Linked DNA regions of Homo sapiens: all the other regions are linked to region 1. The links are contacts of gene promoters, found by promoter capture Hi-C in blood cells and fetal thymus (Javierre and others, 2016). All regions are on one chromosome and are shown on one strand. Each heading gives the region's core, a stretch centred on a gene start or on the middle of the fragment in contact. The rest is flanking DNA. Distances are from core to core; before and after follow the strand shown. Region 1 holds the start of TXNDC2 (thioredoxin domain containing 2). Region 2 overlaps PPP4R1 (protein phosphatase 4 regulatory subunit 1). Region 3 overlaps PPP4R1 (protein phosphatase 4 regulatory subunit 1).

Region 1 (3,490 bases), core at 541-3,040:
GATGGTTTCTGCAAATGATGCCTATCCTCCCCGCTTCACCTCCTTTCTCCTAACACTAAGAAAGAAGACATTGCCCAGATAAGTGCCTGACGTTTATTTTCATCCTCTGCTTTAAAATAGGGCACCATGAAAAACAGTCCTGTCAGCTGTGGAAGCCGTTGGCATTGGAGAGTGAAGACAACCTCCCGTCCTTTAAAATATCACATAAGAAAGGCCCAAAGTCTCCCAGTGAGAGAGGGAAGAGCTTTCTTTGGCAGTAACCGAGGAAACGGAGTGGAAGCATGAGCTCTTCCTGGAACAGGATTCATATCATCAAGAACTACGGATTTGCTGGGCCAGGCATGGTGGCTCACGCCTGTAATCCCAGCAATTTGGGAGGCTGAGGCAGGTGGATCGTTTGAGGTCAGGAGTTAGAGACCAGCCTTGCTAACATGGTGAAACCCTGTCTCGACTAAAAAAAATACAAAAATTAGCCGGGTGTGGTGGTGAATGCCTGTAATCCCAGCTACTCGAGAGGGTGAGGCAAGAGAATTGCTTGAACCTGGGAGATAGAGGTTGCAGTGAGTCGAGATTGTGCCACTGCACTCCAGCCTCGGTGACAGGGCAAGACTGTCTCAAAGAAAAAAAAAAAAGGAACTATGGATTTGCTAAGGCCAATAGTCTCTCTACCCCTTAGTAAAATGTGTTTTGGTATAAAAATCCAGATAATTGAACCATTGCCATTAGATGTTTCGAGGTTTCTATTGACAATGTGGAGGTCTTATCATTTAGATTTCAACACTTTTATTTTTAGTTTTTAGAGACGGGGCCTTGCTCTGTTGCCCAGGCTAGAGTACGATGTAGTGATCACGGCTCACTGCAGTCTTGAACTCACTGGCTCAAGCAAGCCTCCCACCTCAGCTTCCCAAGTAGCTGGGACAGGCGTGTGCCACTGTGCCTGGCTAGGTTTTGTATTTTTTGTAGAGATGGGGTCTTGCTATGTTGCCTAGGCTGATCTCAAACTCCTGGGCTCAAGAAATCCTCCCACCTTGGCCTCCCAAAGTACTGAGATCACGGTGTGAGCCACCATGCCTGACCACTTTCAACACTTATATTGTTGGGGTGAAACTGAAACATATGAGGATTTGTTCAAAGTACATGTAGAGAAGGCAAAATTCCACACTGATTCTTCCTGCCTTGGACTGGATGTGTTGTGCAGAGTGAGGGTGGAAAATGAGCCAGTGGTCCTGAACTAATAAAATAAGTCTCCCTGGGGGACAGGTATTTGGCTTCCCATTCCACAGGATGGGGTAGATGTGGCTTATGGAACCAGGATTATTCACAAAGAGGTTGTTCTCCTGTATGTAAAGGCTGGAAGAGCCGTGTACTTGGATGTGTCTGCATGGGGGAGGGCACAGGCTGGGCTGGTGCGCCTGGGAGGTGGGGGAGGTGGGGAAAGAGGCTGTCTAGCAGGAGCTGAACATTTGACATTGTGGGACACTTTGCAGAGGAGGCTAACATGGTTTCGAGGAGATACTTAGGAGCTGGTCACAATGGGTGAGTCGTAAAGAGAATGTTGGAGCTGGGGGATCCTGGAGAAAGATGATAAGATGGTTGATTCACAGAACCCAGGCTGGACGGGACTTGTGGCGAGCAGTCCAGCACAGCCTCACAGTGCAGAGCATGAGCTTTGGAGCCTGCCCCCACCCTAGCTTTGTGACCTTAAGTGAGCTACATAGCTTCTCATGTGTAAACTACTCATCATAATGGTTCTGACCTCAGTGGTTTGTTGTGTTCTAGGAAATGATGCCAGTGAATGCGTAGTCCCAGCCTCAGCACAGGGGAGCCACCTTGAAGCTCTCAAATATCACTGTTGTGAATACAGAGAGGGAAAACCAACTGTAACGTGCCACCCAAATGTAAGTTTTACTCATATTTTGATGTTAGGATGGATAGCTTGGAAAAAGTTGGAGGGTACGGCCTTTACTATGAGGCATCTATGAAGGATCAGGAATGGATGTAGACAAGGAACTAGGAATGGAAAGTGTTAAAGCTGGAGCCTCTGGAAAACCAGAAATGAGGCTGGGCACTCAGGAAGAAACAAGTGAAGGTGATGCTAATGGTAAGTAGGGGAGGAAAGAGGGTTGCCTTAAAGACCTATGCAGTTAGGGAGCGGGCAGGGTGTTGAACCAAGAAGGGAAAGTTGTAGCTTAAGAACATGTATACAGAAGATACGTGTAACCACACGCTGTTTGTCCTTCTGCTGAATGAGTTTTTCAGATTAATACATCATTCATCAGACTTCATTCGTGATCTCGAAGAGTGACATCAGTCTTCCTTGGAATATGAAGAGAATTTCTTTGGTTCTTCTTTTGCATTTCTATTTGATTTATTTTATTTTATTTTATTTTATGTTTTTTGGTACAGAAAGCTCATTACTAGTCCTGTCCAGCAACGTGCCTCTCCTGGCCCTAGAGTTCTTGGAAATAGCCCAGGCCAAAGAGAAGGCCTTTCTCCCCATGGTCAGCCACACGTTCCACATGCGCACAGAGGAGTCTGATGCCTCACAGGAGGGCGATGACCTACCCAAGTCCTCAGCAAACACCAGCCATCCCAAGCAGGATGACAGCCCCAAGTCCTCAGAAGAAACCATCCAGCCCAAGGAGGGTGACATCCCCAAGGCCCCAGAAGAAACCATCCAATCCAAGAAGGAGGACCTCCCCAAGTCCTCAGAAAAAGCCATCCAGCCCAAAGAGAGTAACATCCCCAAGTCCTCAGCAAAACCCATCCAGCCCAAGCTGGGCAATATTCCCAAGGCCTCAGTGAAGCCCAGCCAGCCCAAGGAGGGTGACATCCCCAAGGCCCCAGAAGAAACCATCCAATCCAAGAAGGAGGACCTCCCCAAGTCCTCAGAAGAAGCCATCCAGCCCAAAGAGGGTGACATCCCCAAGTCCTCAGCAAAACCCATCCAGCCCAAGCTGGGCAATATTGCCAAGACCTCAGTGAAGCCCAGCCAGCCCAAGGAGAGTGATATCCCCAAGTCCCCAGAAGAAACCATCCAGCCCAAGGAGGGTGACATCCCCAAGTCCTCAGCAAAGCCCATCCAGCCCAAGCTGGGCAATATTCCCAAGGCCTCAGTGAAGCCCAGCCAGCCCAAGGAGGGTGACATCTCCAAGTCCCCAGAAGAAGCCATCCAGCCCAAGGAGGGTGACCTCCCCAAGTCCCTAGAGGAAGCCATCCAGCCCAAGGAGGGTGACATCCCCAAGTCCCCAGAAGAAGCCATCCAGCCCAAGGAGGGTGACATCCCCAAGTCCCTAGAGGAAGCCATCCAGCCTAAGGAGGGTGACATCCCCAAGTCCCCAGAAGAAACCATCCAGCCCAAGAAGGGTGACATCCCCAAGTCCCCAGAAGAAGCCATCCAGCCCAAGGAGGGTGACATTCCCAAGTCTCCAAAACAAGCCATCCAGCCCAAGGAGGGTGACATTCCCAAGTCCCTAGAGGAAGCCATCCC
Region 2 (3,490 bases), core at 677-3,176, 310 kb before region 1:
ATCATAGCTCACTGCAGCCTCAAACTCCTGGGCTGAAGCGATCCTCCTGCCTCAGCCTCCTAAAGTGATGGAATTACAGGGCCTTGAAGTTCCTTGATCACTAGCTCACCTTGGTGTTAAAATTAAATTTTAATATTCTCAGCTGCAAAAATGAACGGAGAATGACTGGTCAAATAACTGTTTGTCTGATAAATGTAAACTTGTTAGTTTGTCCAAACTTAAAACTCTTAGAATGATTTTTTTAAAAGGAAACTAGAAGACAAAGTTTCCCTAGTACAGTATTAAATTGTGGACAGAACTACAGCATGCATGGCTTCAAAAATGTCGAAAGTATAAATTCTCTAAATTCTAATTTTTCCTGGTAAAGTATAATAGTCAATACAAAATCAAGCTGTTCAATGCTAAAATTCTGATATTCCTAATTGTCAGACTTTGAAATGCTATTGTACAAGACAAATTTTTTTTTGAAAATTGAGGCCCTTTGTGACTCTGTATAATGGGAATTATCCTGTCTCCTAAGAGACGTAGGTATCAAGAGCACCAGAGGACAGTCCAGAAACTACCTACTTAAGGAGGAATCTTAAGTGTCTTTTTGTGCCTACATAAGTTTATAATTAATATCTTCAGAGTTCCTTAGTAGAGACTATGGGCCTAGAAAATTAATTACAGGTATTTCAAGGAGAAAATGACTTGTAGAACATCTGGCTAAAGAGGTATTGTATCCTGAGATAAAAGCAAACACGCTCCAGGATACCTTCCAAGTACTGTGAATTAACTCAATGAAGTTTTAGCATTCATGAAATATTTCCAAATTTGTGCTAATAATTTTTTTTCATATAGTTAGCATTAAGCTAAACTGGAAAAATCCAGCAAAAGTGGTTTAGTTACTTCAGATTTTTGAGGTCAAATCCATATTTCCCTAGAATAATTCATTCAGGATTAATATGTGCACCAACGGGCCAGGCCCAGCGGAGACAAAGGGAGGAGCTGGACGCCACACTGCATGGCCGGGAGGCTACTGGATGATAGATGCCAATATGTAGCCAAAAGGATAGGATTAAAATAGTGCTCTCATTACAGCGCTACTGATGATGAAGACAAAAGCTCTGTACTTCCTGGACAACTCAGTGCATCTAAGACAGCACTTTGTTAAACGAGGGTATGGATGGAACAAGAAGCTTCCCAGAGAGCAGCAAGTACAAAAACAGGGAGAATTAAGAGAACATGGTGCATTCAGAGAACAATGTGATAACGAATGCTTATTTTACATACTTTTAAAATGCAGATTTGAGTATTTCAACTCTGCTTCTGAGAAGTAGGCTTTATCAGCACTTTCAAAGAAGCATTAACAGCCTGATCCAGGGTGAGTGAAAGATCTGATGTGTAAGTCAGATGTTTGGAATCAATAAATGCTTCAAAGAGTAATAAAGTGATAGTAAATGTTTCTAGGGTCAGATGAAACACTATACAATAAACAGTGGTGGAAATATGTTGCCAAAAACTTGCTTACTTTGTAAGACATTTGTTTGAAAAACCTGAATCTAAGAAACTGAGAGAACTTTGAGGACAGGAACGAAGTTCTATCTTTCCATTTACAGTTTCTGGTTCATAGGAGGTGCTCAGTTAACTTTTGCATAATCAATCAATCAATCTTAATACCACAACAGTTTAAGACAGCTTAAAACAAATGCCACTGTGCTATTTAAGGGAGGGCAAACAAACTAATGGTTCTGAGATTTAATAATATATAGGACTACTTCTTTATAGTTTGTCAAACTATGCAAAAGCTTTTACAATATTTAACATAACTCCTTCCTTAGCCAGGAATGCTCTCTTTCCCCTACCATATCATTAACATAATTTAATAAGCTCTAATATTACTGAAGATCAGCAATACAAGTAGTATTGCCTGGACATTAAGACATACCTCATTACAATGGAAGAAGAATCAAGGAATTGAACTACCTTTAAATAGCTATTGCAGTAATGCTACACACCGGTAGGCGGCAAACATGGCCTTGATAGGCACACTGTTGAGGTCAGTGAAGTTTTACTGGAACACAGCCAAGCTTGTCCATTTATGTAATGTCTACGGCTGCTTATACACTGCAAAGGCCGAGTGAGTAGTTGTGAAACAGAAGAAAGTTTACCAGCTCGTCCTATACAGTTCTCTGCAAATTTATAGTTTCTTACTAGACCCATTTCAGATTTTAAAACAGAAGTTATGTAACAGTCTTCAGTATAAACAGGTAATTTTTTAAGTATGCTGATTTCAAAAATGAAAAATAGATAACATTCCCCACCCACCATCATCACTTTTGTCAAAGTCCTGGCAGCACCTGTTTTCAAAAAAACTGACAGACTTTGCTTGCTAGGAAGACAGGTTTGAGTGATTTTCTTCCTTTACAAAAAACAGTACCTCAGGTTTGTTTGGCTATTCAGCAGGACAGTAGGAGAACGGGCAAAAAGGTAAAACAAGGCAGCAGAGAAGAAAGAAGAACTGCCAAATCAAAACACCAAGAAAGCAAATAGCACAGTATCAAGACCTACAGAAGAAAATGTCCATTAGCATCATGACAAGGGAGGGAAAAGACACTATGGTAACTCAAGCATTATAGCAGGGACTGTTTCAAATATTTGTACTAAAATTACTTCAAGTGCATAACTGTAAAAGTTTGTGTACATTTCCCGCATACTAGTAAGTTAGGCTTGAATTAGTTTTTCCCCTAAATATATATTATAATAAATTTTTAAAATTTAAATTTAATAGAAAATTTTCAATGCAAAAACATTTAAAAATAAAAATCACAGCCGACTCTTTAAGCTTTATTTAAAACTTTGGTTTCCTTATGAGACTGATATACTTAAAACTGATATACTGGCTAATATACTGGCTTTCTCCTTTAACTGACAGATTACAATCACCATTGACAAAGAATCCAAGATGCGCAACTAAATTATTTGACAGAAAAGGACAATAAAACATATTCCTAAATTAAGTTTTACTCCTTAAAAACAAATTTAAAAAAACCCAAATACTACACAGTGTGTAACAATTACCCTGTATATTGTAGATATCAATGAATGATTGACTAAATAATGTACTAAATAAACATTTTTTAAAAGTCATAATCTACCATTTAGAGTTTCCTATGTGCGAGGCATCTAGCTAATTGTGTTACATGCATCTACTCATTCAATATGTAACCAACCAAAGAGATACTTAACAAACAAATGCGCTTAAAGTAAAGCTCTATAAAAATATTCACCAATTTTTATATTCAAGAGAAATAGCAAACTATCAAAAAATAACATTTGTTGCAGAATAGTGGAAATAATGTTTAAAAGCAGTAAAATTAGAAAACAAGGTTTTAAAATTAGAAAATGGTTTCAAAATTATACCTATTTTTGTTTTCTACTGACATCTCTTCTGAACTTTTGCTTTCTTCTTTAAAATACTGGCCTGAGCTAGATGGATTAGCAAAAGTAG
Region 3 (3,490 bases), core at 622-3,121, 290 kb before region 1:
CTCATATCACATTAACTTGTTCATTAGTTTTTAGAAACACAAATTTGATCAAAGAAGCCTTTCTAGAATAGAGTAAATTCACTTTCTCCACATATACCTGAATCATCGGCCAATCTGCTAATTCTTTCCAAAACAGCAATACAATCTCTTTCATCATCGCAGACTTCCCTCAAGGTATCGAGCAAACTCCGGGCCACCATTTGTCTACACAAAAAAAACAAAATTATGTATGTTCAATGGCATCAATAGCTAATATCCAGAATTTTAATTTTTTGAGACAGGGCCTCATTCCTGTTGCCCAGGCCGGAGTGTAATGGTGTGATCACGGCTAACTGCAGCATTGACTTCCCTGGCTCAGGTAATCCTCCCACCTCAGCCTCCTGAGTAGCTGAGACTACAGGCATGCACCACCACACCTGGCTAATTTTTAAATATCTTTAGTAGAGATGCTGTTTCACCATGTTGCCCAGGCTGGTCTCAAACTCCCGGGCTCAAGCAATCCACCTGCCTTGGCCTCCCAAAGTGCTGGGATTACAGGCATGAGTCACTGCACCTGGCCGATATCTAGAATTTTAAAAGACAAAATCTGTATATTTTTTAAGAAAATTTTTTCTTATTACATTATTAAAACATATATTAGGTCTATAATTTCCTAAGTGGCAAACGGCAGTATTGATTTTATTTTAACAAGATGAGACTGAATATTTACAACATTTTTTTTTAATCTTTATCTAACTGATTTGGTAAAAAGTCACCAAAAATTCATTTCAGTTGTCCTTCAATTATCACAATGAAAAAACACACTCATTCATTATACAAAATGTTACCCTTACATATTTTTAGTAGTATGAGTTTTGCATAGCTATACCCAAAAAATCTGAACCAAGACTTTTTGATTTCCCAGAAAAGTGTGATATAGGTGGTCTGGGATCATGGCTGGACAAACACAATGCAGTAGGAAGAGTGCTGGCTCTTGGTCACTGCTGTGTGACCCAATGATCTTGAGCATCACCCGTCATACAGCAGGTATACAACATCATGTGTTGAAGGAATAATGTACTTCCCAATAAGCAATTTATATGAATACCAAAATTATGTCCAGTGGCAGAAAAGCAATGGTAATTAATGGTAATTTTTTTTTTTGCAAAGAAAGCATGTTGTATGCTTACTAGGATCAAAGAATAAACAAGTACAAAACTGCTCATGCTGTGATTATGAATAAAACTTGGTGACTCAGATTGTGCCTGTTAATAATACCTCCTTTAAAGTGGATACTTTCATTTTCCCTACTGAAGTTAATAAAACCACCCTTCCACTTCCACTTTAACAAAAAGAATATGCACATACCTGTTAAATATGTTCTCACTTGCAGCATACTTGTCCAATCTCCCCAGGGGCGTCAACATTTCATCTTGTGAGACAAAGTCCAGGGCTGAAGGTATAATAATCACATCAGACTCTGAGCTGTAGTCATCCACACCAACTATCAGAGACATCAGAAATACTCCTTATAACACTTTGAAACTAAAATGTACCCCTTGCCTGTCTGAAGCAGTACAAATCTGTTTCTGGAATGGTACAAAAAAAAAATCACAAGAGACTCTCAGAATCAATCCAGAAGCCACAAATAACTAAAAGATACCTCCTCTCCTTTTCCTACAGATATGTTCTACTTGGCTCTATAAGCACAAAGTTCTACTTGGCTCTAAAAGCACAAAGGTCAGAGGCTACAGAAACTCAGTATGCAGGAAAGTGACCAGTCTTGAGAACATGTTCAATCAAGACACTAACAACTTGTGAATAGGCACACAAAAAGTCAAGCACCAATATAGTTAGTCCTGCAATGTGGAAGATAAAGCTAATGAAACTGGTATCTAACTTCACTTAATAGAAGAAAGCTAAAAACATTAATATATTTACATTCATTAAACAAATATTTATTAAATACATTTGTGCCAAGTACTAGGGTAGATGCTGGAGAAACAACAATGAAAATACTAATGTTTCTGACTTCAAAGAGCTAATATTCTACAGAAAACAATCTACTTTAAAATGATCATTGTAATAAAAGTATGTATTAATACAAACTAAAAGGCCAGACACCCATTCAAGCTGCAGGAGAAGGAAGAGAAGACCAAGAAAGAATGGCTAAAAACTAACCAAAAGGTAATTATTTCAAAGGAACCAAGCAATGAGTGAAAGTATGATTAAACAGCATCTACTACCAAAGGAGTCAAGGAAGAACTGAAAGGTGCCCACTGAATTTGGTACTTTTGTGCCATGCTGTGTGACAAGGGCAATTTTCCATTGCATGAAAGCCGAGAAGCCAAACCTGACTGAAGAGGTAAAGGAAAATATAATAAAGTGAAGACAATGAATACAAAATATACTTTCCAGAACTGTGGCTGTGATATAGTAAACTGGATTAGATTACTAGCCAGGGCATTCAAGCAAAATAAAGATTATTTATTTTGTTCTGTTCCTAATGTTTAAAAGAAGACAGAGTTGCACATGGTTATATAATGAAAGTAAACAGTCAACAAATAAATATAAATTGAAGTTTTAGCAATAAGAAAATATTACTGATGGAAACACCATGGGGTTGGAAAGGATGCGATCCAGAGGTAAATCAGGGCCTTTCCCAAAGCCCTAAGAGCTTTCCAAGAAATTTTTATTATTATTTCCTGGCACTTCCTATTCTATCCCCTGCATTACTTGATTTACTTTCTCAATAGTGCCTGTCAACATCTGGTACGTATTAGTTGTTTTACTTATAGTCTGTCTCTCTAGAGTAAGTTATTGGCTCCATGAGGACAGAAATTTTTATCCCATACACTGCTTCATCTCCAGGATATTTCCAGGCACAAAGTAAGCATTTAAGTATTTTTGAAACAAATAAATCTGTTCATCACTCACAATGAGATTTTGTCGTTGCTCCTTTAGCTCTTAAGAGAGAAAAAGAAAACCACCTAAGAAACTCCTCCCAAATGTTGCTATATGAGAGACAGAAAAGATTCATCATTTCCTGATGAACTGTTATTGCTGTTAGGGCATTTTAAAATGCTTGTTTTTAAAGTAAATGTGTATATACCATGGGCCCATCTTACAGAACTGACTACTTTAAACAGATAACATTTTTACTCCCAACAGAACATTATCAAAAAGAGAACACAACAGTTCCTTTTGTTAAAATAAAAATAACTTCTGTACTTAAAGAACACTTAAACATGATCTTCCACTTTTGACAAAGGATGGATTAACAGGAACCAACTTAACCCTCACACCTTAAATGGTAAATAAATAAATAAAATGACAGAGCCAGGCATGCTGATAGTGTCTGTAGTCCCAGCTACTTAGGAGGCTGAAGCAGGAGGACTGTTTGAGCACGGGAGGTCGAGGGTGTACTCTTCTATAACTGCATTTGTGAATAGCCACTGCACTCTAGCCCCTGAGAAACACAGTGAGACCCCCATCTCTTAAAAAAAAGATA

Evidence for each region. The method cuts DNA at HindIII sites, captures the fragments that hold promoters and counts their contacts. A CHiCAGO score of 5 or more calls a contact.
Region 2: a fragment that was not itself captured here is called in contact with the fragment with the promoter of TXNDC2 in region 1 in 1 of 17 cell types (erythroblasts); the score reaches 5.3 in erythroblasts.
Region 3: a fragment that was not itself captured here is called in contact with the fragment with the promoter of TXNDC2 in region 1 in 1 of 17 cell types (neutrophils); the score reaches 7.3 in neutrophils.

What each region holds. Positions count from the first base shown.
Region 1 is chr18:9,884,183-9,887,672 of GRCh38, forward strand. TXNDC2 (thioredoxin domain containing 2) reads left to right here and starts at 1,791. Exons shown (of 2, transcript NM_032243.6): 1 at 1,791-1,898; 2 at 2,407-3,490. The coding sequence starts at 2,499. The HindIII fragment of the contact is 12,861 bases long and covers 1-3,490 here.
Region 2 is chr18:9,573,662-9,577,151 of GRCh38, forward strand. It overlaps PPP4R1 (protein phosphatase 4 regulatory subunit 1), which reads right to left. Exons shown (of 20, transcript NM_001042388.3): 10 at 3,403-3,490. Among named protein-coding and RNA genes, the nearest start is that of PPP4R1, 39 kb to the right of the region's middle. RefSeq lists enhancers at 569-1,079, 1,080-1,590. The HindIII fragment of the contact is 282 bases long and covers 1,786-2,067 here.
Region 3 is chr18:9,593,671-9,597,160 of GRCh38, forward strand. PPP4R1 (protein phosphatase 4 regulatory subunit 1) reads right to left here. Exons shown (of 20, transcript NM_001042388.3): 3 at 1,348-1,483; 4 at 98-204. Among named protein-coding and RNA genes, the nearest start is that of PPP4R1, 19 kb to the right of the region's middle. The HindIII fragment of the contact is 4,261 bases long and covers 1-3,490 here.